2 separate regions of the Homo sapiens genome follow, and region 2 is linked to region 1. Evidence: promoter capture Hi-C in 16 types of primary human blood cells and fetal thymus (Javierre and others, 2016). All regions are on one chromosome and are shown on one strand. The core of a region is centred on a gene start or on the middle of the fragment in contact, and the rest is flanking DNA. Distances in the headings are between cores, read along the strand shown. Region 1 holds the start of ANXA7 (annexin A7). Region 2 holds the start of SYNPO2L (synaptopodin 2 like).

The links. The method cuts DNA at HindIII sites, captures the fragments that hold promoters and counts their contacts. A CHiCAGO score of 5 or more calls a contact.
Region 2: the fragment with the promoter of SYNPO2L here is called in contact with the fragment with the promoter of ANXA7 in region 1 in 2 of 17 cell types (erythroblasts and endothelial precursors); the score reaches 6.0 in erythroblasts.

Annotation. Positions count from the first base shown.
Region 1 is chr10:73,411,622-73,416,242 of GRCh38, forward strand. ANXA7 (annexin A7) reads right to left here and starts at 2,437. Exons shown (of 13, transcript NM_001156.5): 1 at 2,391-2,437. RefSeq lists enhancers at 1,451-1,570, 1,581-1,660 and a silencer at 2,061-2,620. The HindIII fragment of the contact is 4,736 bases long and covers 1-3,290 here.
Region 2 is chr10:73,653,538-73,658,158 of GRCh38, forward strand. SYNPO2L (synaptopodin 2 like) reads right to left here and starts at 2,492. Exons shown (of 4, transcript NM_001114133.3): 1 at 2,281-2,492; 2 at 592-743; 3 at 1-116. The coding sequence starts at 2,385. SYNPO2L-AS1 (SYNPO2L antisense RNA 1) reads left to right here and starts at 502. Exons shown (of 3, transcript NR_187519.1): 1 at 502-769. RefSeq lists a silencer at 2,434-2,728. The HindIII fragment of the contact is 8,470 bases long and covers 1,353-4,621 here.

The DNA.
Region 1 (4,621 bases), core at 1,187-3,686:
GGGTTTCATCATGTTGGCCAGGCTAGTCTCGAACTCCTGACCTCAGGTGATCCACCCACCTCGGCCTCCCAAAGTGCTGGGATTACAGGCGTGAGCCACTGTGCGGGGCCATTGCTTAAATTTTTAAAAAGGAGGGACAGGTGAAACAGATTATGGATAGCCATACAAGGAGGTGTTATGTGGTTATTAAAAATGAGGCAGCTTTTTCTTTTACCCATATATGAAACCATCTATAACACGTATTAATGAAAAAAAAAAAAGGCAAAGTGAAAAACTGCATAGTGTGCTGCCATTATGTGTAAAAAATGCACTGATTTTGACTTATAGAATATCCCTGAAAGGACACTCAAGGAAGTAGAAAACAGTGACTGCTTCCTGGATGAAGAGCTGGGACACAATGGAGAAGACTATTTACCTTTCTTTTTTCTTTTTTTGAGATGGAGTCTCGCTCTGTTGCCAGGCTGGAGTGCAGTGGCACGATCTCAGCTTACTGCAACCTCCGCCTCCGGGGTTCAAGAGATTCTTGTGCCTCAACCTCCTGAGTAGCTGGGACTACAGGCGCCTGCCACCACGCCCGGCTAATTTTTGTATTTTTAGTAGAGACGGGGTTTCACCGTGTTAGTCAGGATGGTCTCGATCTCCTGACCTCGTGATCCTCCCGCCTAGGCCTCCCAAAGTGCTGGGATTACAGGCGACAGCCACTGCGCCCGGCCGAGACTTACTTTTCAATGTACTTTAGCCCTTTTAGAATTGTACATATATCATTTATTCAAGAGGCAGATTTTAAACGTTTTTGTAAAAAGCTAAATAACACCCAGAGTGACTCAAAAAATTTCTCAACTTTGCCCAAGTGAATAGTAAGTCTAGAGTTTTTTGGGTTTTTTTTTTTTTTGTGACAGAGTTTCTCTCTGCCGCCCAGGCTGGAGTGCAGTGGCGATCTTGGCTCACTGCAACCTCTGCCTCCCGGGTTCAAGCGACTCTCCTGCCTCAGCCTCCAGAGTAGCTGGGATTACAGGCGCGCGCCACCACGCCCAGCTAATTTTTGTATTTTTAAGTAGAGACGGGGTTTCACCGTGTTGGTCAAGCTGGTCTCAAACTCCTCCTGACCTCGTGAATCTCTCGCCTCGGCCTCCCAAAGTGCTAGGATTACAGGAGTGAGCCACCGCGCTCGGGCTTTTTTTTTTTTTTTTTTAAACATTCTCTGTTAGCAATCACTTTTAAAAGACTAGAAAATCATTTTTGGTTTTCCAAACCACCTCCACCCAGTGAGTCAGTTAGTAAAAGGGCTGGGTCTCACCGTTTCTCATTGATGGCATGAAGCCCAGGAACCCAAGAGGCAGCTGTTGCAAATTTATGGGGGAAAAAATACACGAAACAGGAAGGGTGACTGAAGATACGCGCAACAGCGAATACAATTTTGCAAAACCGGCTTCTAGGTATGGTAGGATCATTTAAATCCGTCAGTGATGTGGAGAAAGAACATGGAGGCATGGCTAGTCCTCTGCACGGACAGGTAGGTAGCCAACCACCAGTGAGGACTGAAAGACAGTCCTCACTGAAAAGGACTGAAAGTTTGCAGTGGCCAAAATTATCTCTTTTACCTATTCAGTGCTTGAAACTCTTTCCTTGCCTGGAAGGTAACTCATTACACTCATCATCTAATTCGGACACATTTAGCAGATTAGCTGGCCATCAGCTGGCAAAAATCAGGGCGTTTACGGCAGTCGGAAGACAACAGCGTCATGTCTGTCACTTTACGGTGGACATCAGCCATCTACCTCTGCACCTTGGTTTCCTTGCGCAGTGTTTGCACAGGATGAGCTAATTTCAACACAGATTTGCTGCTGGTCGGGGAACAGCAATCAAATCTGGAATGCTATTCTAGAATAGCTTCCAAGAACTGTAAACGAGAACCAGTGTACGACCTTGGCCTGGCGCATTCTGTCCTACGGTTCACTAAACACAGTAAAAATTTCCCCAAGTTTCCCTAAATTCGCTGTGTCACCGGAAAGTACAGCCACTACCAGCCAGACGGCTTTCAGCACTGCCCGTGCGTTTCCCTACTCAGCCTCCCGCGAGGCAGCTGGGCCACGCTCCGGCCTCAGCCCCTCCACCTGCCCGAGGGCGGGGCGCCACTGGTCCCTGGGATTTCCAAACGGACGGAAGGGCTTCCCGTAAGCCAGGCCGGCCGCCTCACCCACGCCACCCCAACACACCCCGGCCGGCAGCCCGGCTACGAGACGCGCAAACCGAGTCGCCGCCATCCGGGAGGCCCACACTGCCCTCCAGCCGCGCCCCACTAGCACCGGGACAGCAGCGCCCAGAGCTGGCCGAGGGCAAGACCACCGAGGCAGACGAGGTGGGAAAGGGAGGGGGGCGCCGCTCCTCACCTGACCCCAGCAGCAGCGTCACAGCCCAACCCGGTCTCCCGCAAGATGGAGCCGGGGGCGGGCCCAGGGTGGGCGGGGCGTCTCGCGAGCCCGTTAGGATCGCGGCTGCAGCCGGGAACACCCCCGGAGCCGGAGAGGGCGCTGCGGGGAGCGGGCTGTCCCTCAGTCCCGCCCCTAGGCGCCACCTGAGGGAAAAAGACTCTCCCTTCGGGTGGCCCAGCGGATTTTTAATCACATTTATCTGTCGCAAGGACCCTGCACCAATCCCTTTTAAGGCTGCCTCAAGTCACCTAGGAAGTTGCAGCAGTCCTGGGGGTATCCGGGGCCCCTTCAGTGGCGGGCGGTAGAGAAGGGCTGAGACTGGGAGGCTGGTGCAGCCTCCCCGCCTCTGAAATACCGTCCTCCAGGTATTTTCTGGGGACAAAGACGGCGTTTTTTGTTAGCCTCCTGTGAAAGTAATATTTGTGGGAAATCTTAGTTGGAACTGTAGATGAACTAATCAAAATCACTCCCGAAAGGAGTTGTTAGGTGATTTTAGGCTCCCCTCGTGGCTACAGCATTGAACACACATTAGCATTAAACATTTGAGGCAATTACGAGGGCTCAGATCAATATTTTAAACTCGTTAAGGAATTTATATTACAGAGAAAACCAATCAGCTACCTTTTAGAGTGGTAAAAGGTAGCTTCTGGGTGTGGTCCCCCGAACAGCAGCATCACCTGGAAACGTGTTAGTAACGCAGATTATTGAACTCCACCTTAGACCTACTGAATCAAACTCCCCGGGTGGTGCCCAGCAACCTGTTTTAACAAGCCTTCCAGGTGGTTCTGATGCACACTAAAGTTTGCACATCTGATGCACATCAACTTACTTATTCCTCTACACACTTTTCTACCCAAAAGCTTCCTCATGGGGGTGGAATAGAGTGGATTACGATTTTAAATGGGAAGAGCAAGCAAAATATACGTGGCTTCCAAATAGGTGTGTGGAGTGAAAAGTATTTGAGGCAGGTCATTGCCTCATTTAACAATGGTAGACAAAATGCACAACTCTCTAGGTGACCAGCATTAATTCCCCGGCGCCCAACAGTCTGTCTACCTGGAAAATAACAGGACTTTCTGTCCTACCTACCCCAGAGACCTCCAGGATTTAAGCCTTCCCTGAGAAGCCTACTCTGTTCATTCTAGAGTTCCCTTTGTGAGCTCGTTCCAAACCCTCCCTCTGCCTTAAATACCACCATAACAGGGTATTTGCCAAACCTCTTATTTCCAGCCCACTTTCCTGAGCTGCAGGAATAGTCCAATAGTCTACTACGACATTTGCCATTTCATCCTTTCAATTCATCCTTTCTTCCTGGCATAAAAGGCGTTACAGGATCGGAGACCCTTTCCTCCTGCTACCTCTGCTTAGAAAGCACTGCTCATCTTTTAACAATTACTCATCTTAATTAGACTTGTTTTCAAGGTTGCTCATCTCCGTCTTGCTCCAATAAACTCTTCCTGATCTTCTTTTTTGTACTCAACTGGACCATTTTAATTTTTTAATTTTTTTGGAGACAGAGTCTTGCTCTGTCACCCAGGCTGGAGTGCTGTGGTGCGATCTAGGCTCACTGCAACCTCTGCCTCCGGGGTTCAAGCGATTCTCATGCCTCAGCCTCCCGTGTAGCTGGGAGGCATGTCACCACGCCCAGCTAATTTTTTTGTATTTTTAGTACAGATGGGGTTTCGCCATGTTGGCCAGGCTGGTCTCGAACTCCTGGCCTCAAGCGATCCACCTGCCTCAGCCTCCCAAAGTGCTGGATGTATTACAGGCATGAGCCACCATACCTGGTCAACATCTCTGAAGGCCATGGTATGTTCCAGAGTTCATGTGAAATAAGAGCCATCATGCTTCTAATGTGAACATCCCACTGTATCAGAGTCTGGTTTTTTTTTGTTTGTTTTTGTAGTTTTGAGACAGGGTCTCATTCTGTTGCCCAGGCTGGAGTGCAATGGCACAATCTCAGCTCATTGCAACCTCTGCTTCCCAGGTTCAACGAATTCTCCTGCCTCAGCCTCCCAAGTAGCTGGGATTACAGGCATCCGCCACCACGCCCAGCTTTTTTTTTTTTTTTTTTTTTTTTTTTTTTTGAGACAGAGTCTCACTCTGTTGCCCAGGCTGGATGGAATGCAGTGGCACGATCTCGGCTCACTGCAAGCTCTGCCTCCTGGGTTCACGCCATTCTCCTGCCT
Region 2 (4,621 bases), core at 1,242-3,741, 240 kb after region 1:
GCTGAAGAGGCTGAGGAACTGGAGCACCAGGGGGCTCAGGACTTAGTGGAGATAAGGGTGACAGCACCTGAAGCTCATGGGGAGATGGAGATTGCACAGGACCCTCGTCTGCTAACCTGGATAGGAAAGATGACAGAGCTTGAGAGATGGGCTGGGTACTGACAGCTAGAGAGATCTGGAAGGGATGGAGGGAAGAGGTAAGGGGGAGGGAAGAGGTAAGGGAGAGAGAAGGCTGTCATACAGTTGGAATGGGTGGGCCGGGAAGAGTGGAGATATGAAGACAAACTGGGAGGCAAATGTGCTTGAAGGGCTGTGAGTGGAAATAGGCTTAGAGGAAGATGTAATGAGGAGGAAACAGGCCAGGGGTTGAAGTAGGCTCATCAGTCAAATACCCACTGACATCCCCATCCCTTAATTGCAGATACATTCAAGCCCTCTGGGAGGCAGACACAAACCATCTGCACTCCAGCAGAAACGCACGAGCAGAAATAGGTACCTGTTAGTTGCTAAAGCCAGGCCAGTGAGACATAGAGCTGAGACAGGCAATGGGAGCCCTGGATTAGGGGAAGAGAAGAGGAGAGAGGTCCATACCGCTGCACAGTGAGGACAAGCTGATTTCCTGAGGCATCGATGAGGCTCATGGCACTGGCATGGGAGAGGTTGGTGCAAGAGACCCCATTGATTGCCAAGAGCTGGTCCCTCTCTCGGAGTCCTGCTCTGCCAGCCTGGCTCCGTCTTCGAATCTGAGATGTTGAAGGAGACACTGTAGGTAAGAGGGGGCTCCAAAGGGAATAGAATGAAAGGAAAAGATGGGAAGGACCCACAGGAGGGGATTTTACTTTGCAGGGTAAGAAGGGTGGGGAGATGCATGGAAGTGGCTGCAGTTGAAGTGGCCTGTCTAGAGGGAAGAAAGTATACAGACTGGAGAAAGAAATACATCATATGGTGGGAAATAGGGTAACCATTGAATGAAAGAGGCTTGGGAAGAACTGCATGGGGTAGGTAACTAGAAATGGTGGTTATTGGCTGGGTGCAGTGGCTCACGCCTGTAAGCCCAGTGCTTTGGGAGGCCTAGGTGGGTGGATCACTTGAGATCAGGAGTTTGAGACCAGCCTGGCCAATGGGTGAAACGCTGTCTCTACTAAAAGTACAAAAATCAGCTGGCCGTGGTGGTGTGCGCCTGTAATCCCAGATACTTGGGAGGCTGAGGCAGGAGAATTGCTTGAACCCAGGAAGCAGAGGTTGCAGTGAGCCATCATGTCACTGCACTCCAGCCTGGGCAACAGAGTAAGACTCTGTCGCAAAAAAAAAGAAAAGAAAAAAAACGGAAAGAAATGGTGATTATCTCCACAAGCTTTTTCTCCAAGGGCAATATCTATATTGGCTGGTAATTCTCTACTAGGCCTTGTAACCCCAGGCGCCATTACACAGTCAAGATTTTAGAACAGTACTCCAGGTTGGAGGGAGTCCAGCGGTATTCTGGGAGATTGTGATTATTTGGGTATATGTGTGCCATGTATACACACAAATGTATATATGCCAAAGTAATAATAGTAGTAGTGGCTACCATTTATTGAGTTCTTACTAAGTGTTGGGCACTGTGCTACATGTATTATTGCATTTAATCCTTAGAATGGTTCCATGAAGTAGGTACAGGTACTATTATTACCCACATTTTACAGTTCGGAAAACTAAGCCTGTAGGGTGAAACCAAAAGGATAATGACTTCATCTGTGAGGCCAGATCTTGCCATAACCCTCCTAGCACCTAAAAAAGTCTTGCCTAGTGAGAGAAAGGATCTGACCTAGGGAAAGAGCACTGAAGGCATGGGCAGGGCAGGGTGAGGCAGGGTAGGGCTGGGCTGGGCTAGGCTGTTCGAGGCAGTTTCAGTTCATCACATATCAGTTTAGTCAGAGAGAAATTAGAACCTTCCCCGTATTTCTGGAGTTTGGAGTAGAGGCACATACCCAAGAGAACAAACACTGGATGACCAGAGCTGGGCCTCTGATACCACAGTGCTGCAGGGAACTGAAGCAGAGCCTTTCCTTTTCCTCTGCTCCCTGGAAACCGCGAATTCTCTTTTCTAATAGACCCCCACAGGAAGCCTGTGGTCAGACGCTACTCCCACTATGAGACTTGAGCATACTTCCCTGCCCACCACCCACCCCATCTTCACAGCCTCCCACCCCCCCAACCCCCGCCATATGCCACCACACATCTCTTCCCAGGATCCCTTGGGTTCCCTTTCCCTGAAGCCTCATTTCAGGGGCTCTCCCTTACCTTAGACACCTGTAACGGTTTCCTCTGCTCGGCCCCCCCATGAAGTCGGAAGCCCCAGGGGGCTCCCCCTGATAGTGTGACCAGCACCTCCTCCTCAGCACCCATCGCTCAGCTTGGCCTATGGCCCCCGGAGTTTGAACAGTGTCCCCAGGAGAGAAGTTGAGGTGCTCGAACCCCGTCTGGGCTTCCTGTCCGGCTGTCCTGCTCCTGCTGCCCCAGGCCTCCCCCCCACACCACACACCACAGGCAGGCAACTTGGCCCTGGGATCATTACAGTCCAGCACACATGTCCCGTCAATCGCAGATGTGCTCAAAATAGATGCCGCTTGTACTCCCCTCCCTCCCCCTTCTGTGTTACTCCTAGAGCTAATTATAGTACAAACTTCTGCCCTCCATGTTCCCAATTCTCCTGCATGGGCCTTTTATTCAGGACTCAGAATACAAACTCTCTGGGCTCTATAACCAATGTACACCCTTTCAGGAACTGTGCCTTCTCTAATAGGACCATGGGCTAATCTCAACTGCTTTCCTCCAAAGACCCTTTCAAAGTGGCAGCAGCAGGGGCTTCAATTCCATAGCTGGCAAAGAATGGCTGGGCTTGCTCCAAGATCCCAGGAAAGAATGCACTCTCGCTATATAAATTTATCTGTTAATTAATAAATGGTGGGCCAGGCATGGTGGCTCACGCCTGTAATCCTAGCACTTTGGGAGGCCAAGGTGGGTGGATTGCTTGAGTCCAGGAATTTGAGACCAGCCTGGGCAACATCGTGAGATGGCCCCCCATCTCTATTTTCTTATTATTAAAAAAAGTTAAAAAAAAAAACCAAAAAACTATAGGCTGGGCACGGTGGCTCACACCTGTAAACCCAGCACTTTGGGACCAAGGTGGGCGGATCACGAGGTCAGGAGATTGAGACCATCCTGGCTAACACGAGGAAACCCCGTCTCTACTACAAATACAAAAAATTAGCTGGGCTTGGTGGCAGACGCCTGTAGTCCCAGCTACTCTGGAGGCTGAGGCAGGAGAATGGCGTGAACCCGCGAGGCAGAGCTTGTGGTGAGCCGAGGTCGTGCCACTGCACTCCAGCCTGGGTGACAGAGCGAGACTCCGTCTCAAAAAAAAAAAAAAAACAAACAAACAAACAAAAAACTATAAAAAAACAAATTACCTATTGCAATACATACGTGGTCATGGAAAGGTGTGTAGGTGTGCATAAACATACCAACCCATGTTAATACAATCTCTACTTGTCTCTAGGTTTCCATTACGAGAATGTCTCTGTTACAAGGCATAACATTATGGTGCTATAACTGTGATTATCAAAGGCTACAGAGTTTCATAAAATAGCTGCCCACCTAGTGTATGCTAAATACCGTTTGCCTTGGCATATGCCTCTATGTCCTAGAAACACTTGGGCTGGGTGCAGTGGCTCATGCCTATAATCCCAGCACTTTGAGAGGCTGAGGCAGGTGGATTGCTTGAGCCCAGGAGTTCAAGACCAGCCTGGATAACATGGTGAGACCCTGTTTCTACAAAAAAATACAAAAAAATTTAGCCAGGCCTGCCTGGTCACATGCTCCTATAGTCCCAGCTACTTGGGATATTGACGTGGGAGGGTTGCTTGAGCCCTGGAGGTCGAAGCTGCAGTGAGTCGTGATCCTGCCACTGCACTGTAGCCTGGGTGACATAGTGAGACCCTGTCTCCAAAAAAAAAAAAGAAAAAGGGGAGAAAACATTGGAGGCAACAGAGGGAGACCTGATCTCCAAGAAGAAAATAGTTGGGATTTTGGGGTCAGAAGAATTGAACTTGGGTTCTTTTTTTTGAGATGGAGTCTCGCCCTGTCGCCCAGGCTGGAGTGCAATGGAGATCTTGGCTCACTGCCACCTCTGCTTCCCAGGTTCAAACAATTCTCCTGCCTCAGCCCCCTGAGTAGCTGGGGCTACAGGCATGTGCCACCACACTTAGTTAGCTTTTTGTATTTTTAGTAGAGACGGGGTTTCGCCATGTTGGCCAGGCTGGTCTCAAACTCCTGACCTCGTGATCCGCCCATCTCAGCTTCCCAAAGTGCTGGGATTACAGGTGAAAGCCACTGCACCCGGCCACCCCCTTTTTTTTTTTTAGACCGAGTTTCGCTCTTGTTGCCCAGGCTGGAGTGCAATGGCATGGTCTCAGCTTACTGCTACCTCCACCTCCCAGGTTCAAGCGATTCTCCCGTCTCAGCCTCCCAAGTAGCTGACACTACAGGCACCCGCCACCATGCCCGGCTAATTTTTGTATTTTTAGTAGAGACGGGGTTTCACCATTTTGGCCAGGCTGGTCTCGAACTCCTGACCTCAGGT